Linked DNA regions of Homo sapiens: region 2 is linked to region 1. The links are contacts of gene promoters, found by promoter capture Hi-C in blood cells and fetal thymus (Javierre and others, 2016). All regions are on one chromosome and are shown on one strand. Each heading gives the region's core, a stretch centred on a gene start or on the middle of the fragment in contact. The rest is flanking DNA. Distances are from core to core; before and after follow the strand shown.

Region 1 (6,079 bases), core at 923-3,422:
AGGGAAACTTTGCTAGATTGGAACTTTCTTTTCTTTTCTTTTTTTTTTTTTTTTTTTTTTTTTGAGATGGAGTTTCACTCTTGTTGCCCAGGCTGGAGCACAATGGTGCTGTCTTGGCTCACCACAACCTCTGCCTCCTAGGTTCAAGCGATTCTCCTGCCTCAGCTTCCCGAGTAGCTGGGACTACAGGCATGCGCCACCATGCCCAGCTAATTTTGTATTTTTAGTAGAGACAGGGTTTCTCCATGTTGGTCAGCCTGGTCTCAAACTCTCGACCTCAGGTGATTTGCCTGCCTCGGCCTCCCAAAGTGCTAGGATTACAGGCGTGAGCCACAGCACCTGGCTTAGAGTGGAACTTTCTGTTCAGAGTGGTTCTCTAGGTTCTCCTTTACAACTTGCCCACTGGGGAATTTTTTTTTTTTTTTTTTTGAGATGGAGTCTCGCTCGGTTGCCCAGGCTGGAGTGCAATGGCATGATCTCTGCTCACTGCAACCTCCGAGTCCCAGGTTCAAGCGATTCTCCTGCCTCAGTCTCCTGAGTAGCTGGGTGCCATCATGCCCAGCTAATTTTTGTATTTTTGTAGAGACGGGGTTTCACCGTGTTGGTCAGGCAGGTCTCGAACTTCTGACCTCGTGACCCGCCCACCTCGGCCTCCCAAAGTGCTGGGATTACAGGCGTGAGCCACCGCGCCCGGCCCTCACTGGGGAGTTTTTACATAACCTTCAAGAACCAAGGTAACATCACTTCCTCAGGAAGTCATCCAGGACCCATTTGCCAAAGTAAATGGTTCTTCCAATATGTTTGTATACAACCGATTGCATTATAGTAGATTATTAATTAGTGTGAATTTCATCTGCTAGAAGGTGTGCTACTTGAGGGCAGAGTCTGGATGGGGCTCATTCCTCTTTAAATTCATAATGCCTGGCACAAAGTGGTAACTCAGTCTTTTGTTTTGCTTTGGCTTCAAAACAAGAATTTCCCAGTCCTTAAACTTTATTTATTTATTTGAGACAGAGTTTCGCTTTTTCACCCAGGCTGGAATGAGGTGGCACAGTAATTACAAACTTACTATCAGCCATACTGTGTACTGGAACTGACCTTGTACAGTGGATCTGAGGCAGATTCTCAGTCGATAAAGCTACCCTCACACAATTCTTTTGGATCTTGGCTCACTGTAACCTCCGCCTCCCAGGTTCAAACGATTCTCCTGCCTCAGCCTCCCTAGTAGCTGGGATTACAGGTGCCTGCCACCACGCCTGGCTGATTTTTTTGTATTTTTATAGTAGAGACAGGGTTTCACCATGTTGGCCGGGCTGGTCTAGAACTCCTGACCTCAGGTGAGCTGCCCACCTCGGCCTCCCAAACTGCTGGGATTACAGGCATGAGCCACCGTGTCCAGCCAGTCCTCGAGCTTTAACACTTCCCAAATAGTAAATACGGTGAAAATAAGTGAAACCTATTTTTTATGCAAGAAAACTGTGAGTGTGAGAGTAAGGTAGCAGCCATCATGTTCATGTGCTAACTACTAACACACTTTATCGCCAATGCTCACAGCCGCCCTACGAGATAAACATTATAATCTCAGTTGTACAGGTAGAGAAACTGACCTTGTCATCCAAAGTTACACACTGCCAGCAAGTGCCCTGGCTTGAATCCCTGGCACCTGCCTCCAGAGGTCGCACTCCTAGCCACTTCGCCATGCTTCCTCGATATTCATTAGTATTCTTGCAAATATTTTTCGACTCCAGGTGCTTCACATAGGTTAATTCATTTCCGGTTCAATAGTGTCTGGCTTCAGTAATTACGAACACTACCGCATTTACCCACTGTGAAAAATAATTCACTCTTTCAAAGTTCCTGTATAACCTAATTTTCTAATTCACTTTTGTGTCTTTCAGTTGAGGTACTCCCTGCCTTTTCTGTGTCTACATAAGCTTCCTTTCTTTCGTTTCGTAGGAATAAATTGAACTTATTTTAAGATTGAGGGGGGTACAGCTGTATGGAATATAGACTCATCTTTTTTCACTCTCTGTCACAGAATGAAAAAGGACACCATGATATAGCAGCTGAGGTGGTGGATTAAGATAATGAGGCGGGGGGGGGGCGCAAAACAAAAAAAAAAGGAGCCTTGCTCCACCCCTGCCCCGCCCCCGGCCTCCTCCCGGGGACCCAGAGTCCTGGAAGGCTTTGGGGAGCTCCGGGCCGGGCGGATCGCTGCCTGCAGGGAGTCGGGGATGCCAGGTTCCAGCTGAGCAGCGGCCGCCCGCCAGAGTGCCAGTGGCTCCTTGGAGGTCGAGTCCAAGGACGTGGCTTGAAGCCGGGAGCTGGGGCGCCGGAGTCCACGCACCGGGGATGGAGGCGCTGGGTGACCTGGAGGGACCACGCGCACCAGGAGGTGACCATGAATTGCGTGGCCGGGAGCCCGGAGACCAGCGGCGGCTTCCGGCGTGTCTCTTTAGCAACGATTGAATTGCTTATAGCTTGATCTGTTTCCGAGAGATTGGAAAAGGCTGGGGCCTGATCGTGGGGTTCGGGCCAGCGTTTCTTTTCTCTCTGGACGGGGTAAAGTTCCAGGATTGGATATGTGTCACGGTTTCTAATGACTTTCTAACCTATACCTCTGCTTTTTAAGTACTGTGTGTTTAATGCATTCAAATAAGTATGCCATTAGGCAAATGTAAAACGTTACCTTTCAAGTACCCATTGTTGTTGCCTTTCTTTTTAACTTTCATTTCCCTTTCTCATCTACTACAAACATTTTACAAAGATTCGTAAGACTTCCTCATGTTGCACTGATTTTTTTTTTCCTTCTGGACTGCAATGGCAACCTCTGACAAATAGAGCAAAGCAAATGTATTTCTCTTAAGTTTTTCCTAAAAACAATTTAATTTATAAATGGCTGATGGATTTGCTTGGATATTTGGAACTCAGTAATTGATTTCGTGTTTTTAAATGACAATTTAGCCCTGGAAATAAGTGTTAAATTAACTGATGTAAAAGACCAGTAATTAGGGTAAAAAAAAAGTATTTATTTATGAATTTGTGGGACTTGTCTATCCAGAAGCATACCGCTGTAAATATTAATTCACCAGCTGAATGATTTAGCTTGTTTTCTCCTACTTACACTTCATTTGACTTCAATACTGCCTTAGAAATCTTTGTTTTTTGTTTTTGTTTTTGTTTTTGTTTGTTTGTTTTGTTTTGCTTTTTTGAGACGGAGTCTCTCTCTGTAGCCCAGGCTGGAGTGCAGTGGTGCGATCTTGGCTCACTGCAAGCTCCGCCTCCCGGGTTCACGCCATTCTCCTGCCTCAGCCTCCCGAGTAGCTGGGATACAGGGGCCCGCCACCACGCCCGGCTAATTTTTTGTATTTTTAGTAGAGACGGGGTTTCACCGTGTTAGCCAGGATGGTCTCGATCTCCTGACCTCGTGATCCGCCTGCCTCGGCCTCCCAAAGTTCTGGGATTACAGGCGTGAGCCACCGTGCCCAGCCGAAAGCAGTACGTTTTCAAAACGGCAGTAATGTACAAGGATTGTGTTCCATTTGATCAAATGTGCTATATTCAAAATAGCCCTAAGCTTAGCAAATGATATCTTCAGAGTGCAACATATGTGCACAGAAATCACATTTGTGTACTTTAATCAGTAGTCTCAATTATATGCCTAATTGCTGCATGTTTGCATTCAAGGTGATGATCCTGCAGGAAGTGCAGGAGAGACCCCCGGGTGGCTTTCGAGAGAACAGGTTTTTGTACTGATATCGGCAGCTTCGGTGAACTTAGGTTCCATGATGTGCTATTCTATACTTGGACCGTTTTTCCCCAAAGAGGTAAGACATTTTTAAATCCTTAGGACCTCTGTTTTTTTGTTTGTTTGTTTTTTAAAAGCCTTTTGAATTATTTTATTTTATAGTATATAAAATGTAAAAATCTGCATATAGGACAGATGGTGTATAGAACTCCAGCCAATAGAATACTTCTTATAGAATGCCTGATACCAGGAAAAAAAATCCAGTCAAAAAGAACATCTTCTTGGGAGGTAATTCACCTAAAAGTAGTTGATCTTCTGAGAATTACTTTTCTTACCATGTAGTCTGATTAATCTTTATTTGGTTTCTGCAACTGAAACAAAGGAGTGCACTGAATAACTGAGATTCAAATGTTACTGCAATAGGTCTGTGTTAAGACAGTAACTATTTTCTCGAGGTTTTATTCACATTTTAGAATTAGGACGTTTTGATTCCCGACCCCCCTTCCTTTTTTTTTTTTTTTTTTTTTTCCTTTCGAGACAGGGTTTCGCTCTTGTTGCCCAGGCTGGAGTGCAATGTTGTGATCTTGGCTCACTGCAACCTCTGCCTCCCGGGTTCAATTGATTCTCCTGCCTCAGCCTCCCGAGTAGCTGGGATTACAGGCGCCTACCACCACGTCCGGGTAATTTTTTTTTTTTTTTTTTTTTTGAGATGGAGTCTCGCACTCTCGCCCAGGCTGGAGTGCAGTGGCGCGATCTCGGCTCACTGCAAGCTCCGCCTCCTGAGTTCACGCCATTCTCCTGCCTCAGCCTCCCAAGTAGCTGGGACTACAGGTACCCGCCACTACGCCCAGCTAATTTTTTTTTTTGTATTGTTTTAGTAGAGACGGGGTTTCACCGTGTTAGCCAGGATGGTCTCCATCTCCTGACCTCATGATCTGCCCGCCTCCGCCTCCCGAAGTGCTGGGATTACAGGCGTGAGTCACCGTGCCCGGCCGAATTTTTGTATTTTTAGTAGAGACAGGTTTTTGCCATGTTGGGCAGTCTGGCTTCGATCTCCTGACCTCAGGTGATCTGCTTACCTTGGCCTCCCAAAGTGCTGGGATAACAGGCGTGAGCCACCACGCCCAGCCCCGGCCCCGCTCCATATTCCCTCTTTTGACTTTAATTTCTTATGGACTCTAGCGCCAATGTTTATGCAAGGGAGGAATTCTGATTAATAGGGCCTATTCCTTCTAGGCATAGCCTTTTATATGGTGTTAAGATTTATAGCTAATGACACAGATTCAAAGATAATAATCCCTAGAAAGTCCAACTGGATTCTAGACGTCAATAGGATATAGTATGAAATGAATATGACTGGCTTGGAGTGTAGACAACATATCCATGTGTTTTATTTTGTGCTTTTTGCCAAATCCTTGGCTCACAGTGCAGTGGAAGCTTGTTAGTCCTCCAACTGCCTTTTAAACATGTAGTCCTTCGTTCTGTGTGTTACAAAAGAAGATAAAGTGGCTTCTCTGCTAAAGGAACAATATTGCCATGTACCCATACAGTGCTCTCTGGCTTCTAGTACACATTACCCCTTATTTATCCATTTAATCCCCGCAACAACCTCATACAGAATCTTGAGAATCTCAGCATGTTGCAAATGAAGAAACGGTCTCAGAAGTTGTGACTTGCCCAATTCAGTTCTATTAACTAGAGGTTTAATGAGTCCCTTCTCTAGAGCAGGCTAAGCATGGGATGTGTTAGGGTAGTATAAAAAAATCAGGGAAATGGCTTTCTCTTGTCTGCCCTTTGGGAGTGAAAAAATATGGGAAAAAAAAGGTTCCAATAATTTGGATATCCCTTAAGAAAAGGATGTCCAGAATGTTATAAGACTGTTTTTTTTTTTCTTTTTTTAAATCATTTTCTTCTGGCTTCCCTCTATCCATACTAATGTTATGAGAGCCTAGAAAGAAGAATGGTTAATTCTGCCATACATGGAGTGTGGATAGCAGAAGAAAGGGCGTTACTGAAAGGAACTTTCAGGCTAAATCTAAGTTGGGGCTTTTTTTTTGAGACAGGGTTTCACTCTGTCATCGAGGCTGAAAGTACAGTGGCATGATCAGAGTTCACTGCTGCCTCAACTTCCCAGGCTCAAGAGATCCTTTCGCCTCAGCCCCCTGAGGAGCTGGGGCACAGGCATGTGCCACCACGCCTAGCTATTTTTTTCTATTTTTAGTAGAGATGGGGTTTCACCATGTTGCCCAGGCTGATGTTGAGCTCCTGAGCTCAAGCAATCCGTCCACCATGTTGGCCAGGCCTCTCAAATGCTGGGATTACAGGTGTGAG
Region 2 (6,520 bases), core at 3,180-5,679, 530 kb after region 1:
TGTCCTAGAAGGGCAATATTAGGAGGACCTATAGATAACAGACACAAACACTGGGAGGCTTTATTTCCGTGTTAGCTTTCCTAGGACTCAGGGTGCAAACACCAGATAGCTAGCGCCCGTAGAGGAAAAATTCACAAAAAGAACCTTTCTATTTGTGGTTCACACCTGGAATTACTGGAGTAAAAAGCTCTGTTCACTGAAATTTCCACTATTGGCTCATTACTAATGAGTTACACATTTAAGACACAACACGTATAAATCCTTCAAGATGCCAAAGACAACTTGCCCCAGGGATAGCAAGGAAAGCAGTGTGCTGAGGAAGGAACGGGGAGCTCTGCTGACGGTGTTACCTCCCTAGCCAGGACTTGAGGAACTTCAGTTAATTTTAGCACATTTGCTAGTAGGAAACACTGTGTGTCGGGGGCACCTCTCCTGTCCAGGCTGGAATGTGGCTCCGGAGAGGAGAGGAGACCCACTCATTTGGTCTGGCTGGCTGGTGAAGAAAAGGAACAGAATGTGCTTCTTCTGCAGCCGCTTGGACCCTCCTGCCACGGCACTAACTGTTCAGGGTCTTTTCCAGTACTATTAATATTCTGGAAAATTCCCTGGCTTATAAAATTGGAGAGGTAAAAACTTTTTCCTTTTCTTACAGAACTATGGAAGAGCAGGAGTAAATCACGTCATGACCACGTTTCTCAAACTGGGCATTACAAACCCTCACAGTGATTGTGGTAGAATAGAGACCACCATTATAAAACAGTGAGAGGGACTTTGGACAACTGAACTGACTTCCTTCAGCTGTATAACCAGTTCAAGAGATAGGTTTTCCTAGCTGGCTGGAGCTCCACAGCTGAGTCTAATCTATACTCTTCAGGAGAAATTAGTTCTTTAATTAGCGATGTCTGCTATGGGTGTTGGTGCCAATGGTGTGATGGCAATCATGTTATTTAGCAAACTTAATTTTAAACCATCCTGTTGAAAAGAAGCCTTTCCTAATGCTTAGGAAGACTTTGAGGTCACCCCAAATTTGTAAGGAGAAACATAAACAGAACAGGACAAAGATTAAGAGATTTTGAAATTTACTCCCATATGATGTATTAAGAGGAAAACAGAGTACTGAAAAAGCTTTTTAGGAAGTGATGCCATATAAATTTTATTCAAAAGCATTTACATGAACATATTTTAATTGCAGATGGATGTACAATGGCCATTATATGTATTATAGTTGACAGATTTTTCAAAACAAAAATATTTTTATTGGTAGTATTCCATCTATAATATTAGATTCACTACTGAATATGATGTAAACTTCTTCAGTGATGTAGTTACTTATCATCAGCTGGTGACAAAATGTTACATTCTAAGTTGATTATTCTGCTCTACCTTTTTTGTCTCATTAAACTTTGTTTTAATAGGTCTCAAAATTCTGTGATAGATTTTTAGTCAAGGTGTTTCCGTTAAAAAGTAATGATTTTAAGAACTAATAAAATTGCCACATGAAAACAAAAACAAAATGGTCTACAAAACATTCTTTCCTTCTGAGGTTTTATGATGCATTGTTTATTAACCAGTCTTTTACTGTTAAACTTAAGTGGCTAATTGAAACAAACAGTTCTGAGATGGTTCTTCCACCATTGATTAAGACTAGGGTGCTGACGTGAGAGGATCACTTGAGCTCAGGAGTTTGAGACCATCCTGGGCAACACAGCAAGACCTCATCTCTACCAAAAAAAAAAAAAAATTAGCTTGGTGTGATGGCACAGGTTTGTGGTCCCAGCTGTTTGGGAGGCTGAGATGGGAGGATCGCCTGAGCCCAGGAGGTTGAGGCTGCAGTGAGCCGTGATGGTGCCACTGCACTCCAGCCTCGGTGACAGAGCAAGACGCCATCTCAAAAAAAAAAAAAAAAGACTAGGGTGAAAAGTATTAGAGATACTGTTCATTTAGCCTTCTGAACTTCCCAGGCAGACTCAGTGACTTTGCCAGCTCCAGCAGCCACTGCTCTAATGACACTTCAGCAGCTGTCTATCTCATATCATGAACAGCAAAATGACCTGGAGGAGCATAGTCAGAGAAGCTCTCAACACACCTAGGCTTGATAGGAACCATATCAACGATAGTTTTCACCCAATTTCGAGAATTTAAGAACCATCTTCCAGTTTCTTACAAGAACATCAGTCAACCTTTTCCTTCAGCTCAGCAAACTTGCAAGCAATGTGCGCCGTGTGACAATCCAGTACAGGGGCATACACAGCCAGCGTGATTCACCCTGGAGGATGCAGGATAATCACCGGAGCAGTGAAGCCTGCTGCTTCCACAGGTGGGTGGTTTTGCTTTCATCAGTGATGTTGCCACGACGAACAGCTTTGCCAGACACATTCTTGACATTAAAGCCCACATTGTCTCCAGGAGGAGCCCACTCAAAGCTTCATGGTGCATTTTAACGGACATTACTTCAGTTGTGATGTTGACTGGAGCAGAGTGTTTACGCTACTGGTTTGAGAACACCAGTGTCCACTTGGCCCACAGGGATAGTGCCAATATCCCAAATTTTGTAGACATCCTGGAGGGGCAGACGCAAGGGCTTGTCAATTGGATGAGTTGGTGGTAGGAAGGAGTCCAGAGCTTCAAGCAGCATGGTTCCATAGGCATTGCCATCTTTACCCTAAACTTTCTATCCCTTAAACCAAGGCCTGTGATCACATGGCTCCAGCATGTTGCTACCATCCCAACCAGAAATTGGCACAAATGCCTCAGTGTAAGGGCTGTGGCCCATTTTCTTAATGTAAGTGCTGACTTCCTTAGCAATTTCTTCATGTCTCTTCTGCTATAGGGTGGCTCAGTGAAATCCATTTTGTAAACAACAACAATTACTTGTTACACATCTGGCATGCAAGCCAGAAGGGTGTGCTCAGGGGTCTGCCCATTCTCAGAGATACCAACTTCAAATTCACCAATGTCAACAGCGACAATCAAGGCAGCGCATTCTACCTGGGATGTGCCTGTAATAATGTTTTTGATAAAGTCTTGTGATGGTCACATAGCACTTGCTGGTCTCAAATTTCCACAGAGAAGTATCAATTGTGACACCACGTTCACACTCAGCTTTCTGCTTATACAAGGCCCAGGCATACTTGAAGGAGCCCTTTCCCATCTCAGCAGACTTCTTATCACATTTTGCAGAGGGTCTCTTGTCAGTCCCACCACATGTTTAGATCAGTAGGGGTGGACTTGCCCAAATCTACCAGCCCAATGATGACAATATTGATGTGAGTCTTTTCCTTTCCCATTTTGGCTTTTAGGGGTGGATTTCACAACATCTGTGTTCCTGTAGCCAAGGAAAAGCTTAACATTGCTTTGGAAAGCAGCGTCTTTTCTGACCTATTTTACTTGTACTTGAAATTTATCTTTTAGAAAAAAATGACTTACATCTAATATTCTGATATAGTATGATTTTTAAAATAGCTTTATTGAGATATAATTCATATATCATATGATTCACCAATTAAATGTGCAATCTAATACTTTTGGTATGAAAAAATATACATTTTTGAAAGCCAATACATCAGGGTTTTTTTTAACCTTAAAACAACATGTGCTATAAAACAAAACAACTTCCTCTTCCCACCTCCTCTTTTCTATTCCAAGAAGAAACAAAGAAACAAAATATGTTTTCTGCAGGAAGGTGTGTGTGTGTGAGACTGTGCATGCATGTGTGTGTCCTCATTAGAGGAAAAACAGAAACTGTCCATTTCTATCAACTATTCAGAAACAAAAAAGGATAAGCTTCACAAGCAGGAGCTTGGAGAAATAAGGAGCAATATTATTCTAGAAACCATCTTTTCTGTTTGTTTTTCAAGATCTGGAGAGGTCCTGCATTTGCTGCCTGACATCCCACTCCACATGGTCTTCCAGAAGGAGCCACAAAAGGTAGGAAGTTGGAAGCCAGCCTTGAAAAGGGAAAGGAAAGGACCCAGCAAGGAAGGAAAACTAGTGGCCAGTGATCAGCTGTGTTTACCCACACTGAGCTTATAAATACAACCTAGGCAATACCTCGTGATTTGGGTGAATTGCCAGGTGCACTTGGATAAAGAGAAAACTCAGGAACACAGGAATAAGAAAGGCCAATGTTTGCTCTTAATATCTGGCTGTTAAAGCAATTTACGCAAATCACACTGGGCTGAGTAAGAAGAGACCAACCAGCTGAGCAACAGCATAGGAGGGAAATTGTCTCAAGACATGGAAGGAGTTTTCACATCCTGTTAAACTTGAGGCTAGTGTTATTTTTTGCAGTAAAGCTATGGAAAATACTGGAAGGTTTGGGCAGGGAGTCTGAAAACAAAAATCATGCTGCTTGTAATTGTATGTCTGCCTCTTTGCCAGCTGATGTAGACGAGAAACCGCCCAGCTGTAGATCATTTCCTCTTGCTTGAATACCCATTTGCAATGATTGATTTTAAAGGTCACAGGAGTGCTTGCCAGCACATTTTTATATAAGGAGTCCAGCCTTCTGTTTTGACATTAGTCAGATGCATATGTGGCACCTGAGGAACAAGGAGGAGACAAAGGATCAGGTTCCCTTTTGGATCCATCACTGTCAAGATGGAAACTCTTGCATGTCTGAGTGCCTTATTTTGGCCCAGACACCCCCAAACTGATGGGGAAAAAAAAAACACCTCTGTAATATTTTTATACCGTAGTCTCAAAATTTTACCCTTTAAATTTTTTCACTCTTCTAAAACTTTTCCTTTTTCTTCCTTCCCTTTCCTGTATCCTTCCCTAAATATTTTCTACATCCTTACTATGCATGTCACGTCCTATGCAGCTACTGGGTATGTATGTAGGAATACCAAATAGTTTTGCATCAGGATGTTTACAAATCTAGTGAAGTTTTGAAAACAAATAATAGCAACACGATCCACCAAGAGACTCACGTACAAGGTACCATGTGTCCAGATTAACAACCTACAAAACATTAAAAGTCCCCACTAATTACTAATTTAATGAAATTATTTCTGCTATCTATCTATAGCTATCTATTGCTATATCTATCTGATTAATAAGTTATGGAAGCTTTTTCTTTTTAGCTTTTCTTTCTTTATAAAAAGTTCACTTATTCTTAGAAGGCTTCCTTGACTGATTTCAACCAACATTTATTAAATGCTTATTAGGGGCCAGCCAGGCAGAGTACTAGGATTCGAGGGTTACAAAAATGCATAGAAAAGCTCCTAACTAAAAATAGCTTATAGTCTTAACAGGTGAGACAGATTCTCAAAGCAATACTATAATGCAGGTAAGTAAGTTCTGCAAGTTATGTGTGAAGTACTTACTATGAGAGCACTGAGCCAAAAGAGATGGCTTTTCTCTGATGGACTTCCTGAGAGATGAGCGGATCAGATGAAGTCACAAAGAGGGGAAGACATTTGAGCTAATGCTTGAGAATCATTAAGAGTTCACCAGACCATCTGGTGGCACTGTGTTTATTTCAGACTTTTACCAAAGTTTAGGTGCAACCCAGTGGGTTTTTACAGCTACAGAATGCAAACATTTCAAAATTGATTATTGCCCATCCTTGTTCTTGGGTCTCTTCATTGCCCTGGTAAGTCCGGTCACGTTAATCAGTCCCTGCGCCTTTATCGAGGCCTTTCCTAGCTTACCCATCTCCTCCATTTATCTAACCCATGACCTAATGGTGTCTTGCAAGTTACCTTTCCACCATCCACTCACTTCTGAGCCTACGTTTCATCTCCAAAAGACCTGTTAATTTGTTCTTTCTCAAAAAAGAATCACCTGCTCTGGGTCTTATCCTATAGCAGAGGCTTTGTAATTTCAGCCTTTCCTTTTCTCCAACAGCTTCTATGACTGGAAGGGAATGGAATAAAGATTTTTTATTCCACTACTAATTATTCAAATACCTATTCCATCCCTAGGCAGTAGAAGTCACCATGGTCAGCTTTCATTTGTAATAATTTTCATCCCTGTGAATAACACTTGACTCCTGACCTCAAAGAGGTCAGGTATTTCTAGGTACTTTATACTAGCATTGCTTGTTCTTACTTATTTATAACTCGTCACATCCCTACAATAAAACATAAATGCAGTGACTGCATACTGTTAATTGGCCAGATTATCTCATGCCAATTTCTCTTACTATTAGATACCAGTTAGTTATAAATGCTGCTGAGCACCTTAATTTTTTAATGAAAAAGCTTTTAAAATAGTAATTGAGTGTTTTGAGCTACCATTTTCTTTTTTCTTTCTTTGTTTCTTCTTTCTTTTTTCTTTCTTTTTTTTTTTGAAACAGAGTCTCACTCCGTCACCCCAGCTGGAGTGCAGGAGTGCAGTGGTGCAGTCTCAGCTCACTGCAACCTCTGCCTCCCAAGTTCAAGCAATTCTCAAGCCTCAGCCTCCAGAGCACCTGGGATTACAGGTGCATACCACCATGCTTGACTAATTTTTATATTTTTGGTAGAGACAGGGTTTCACCTTGTTGGCCAGGCTGGTCTCGAATTCCTGACCTCAA

What was found. Contacts are between HindIII fragments. The CHiCAGO score rates a contact against its expected background, and 5 or more counts as called.
Region 2: a contact is called between a fragment that was not itself captured here and the fragment with the promoter of SLC18B1 in region 1, in 1 of 17 cell types (total B cells). The highest score is 6.6, in total B cells.

What each region holds. Positions count from the first base shown.
Region 1 is chr6:132,794,730-132,800,808 of GRCh38, reverse strand. It overlaps SLC18B1 (solute carrier family 18 member B1), which reads left to right and starts at 2,172. Exons shown (of 14, transcript NM_052831.3): 1 at 2,172-2,395; 2 at 3,688-3,827. The coding sequence starts at 2,353. RefSeq lists a silencer at 2,105-2,154 and an enhancer at 3,386-3,886. The HindIII fragment of the contact is 1,643 bases long and covers 1,937-3,579 here.
Region 2 is chr6:132,268,749-132,275,268 of GRCh38, reverse strand. It overlaps the pseudogene EEF1A1P36. Among named protein-coding and RNA genes, the nearest start is that of MOXD1, 130 kb to the left of the region's middle. The HindIII fragment of the contact is 1,287 bases long and covers 3,786-5,072 here.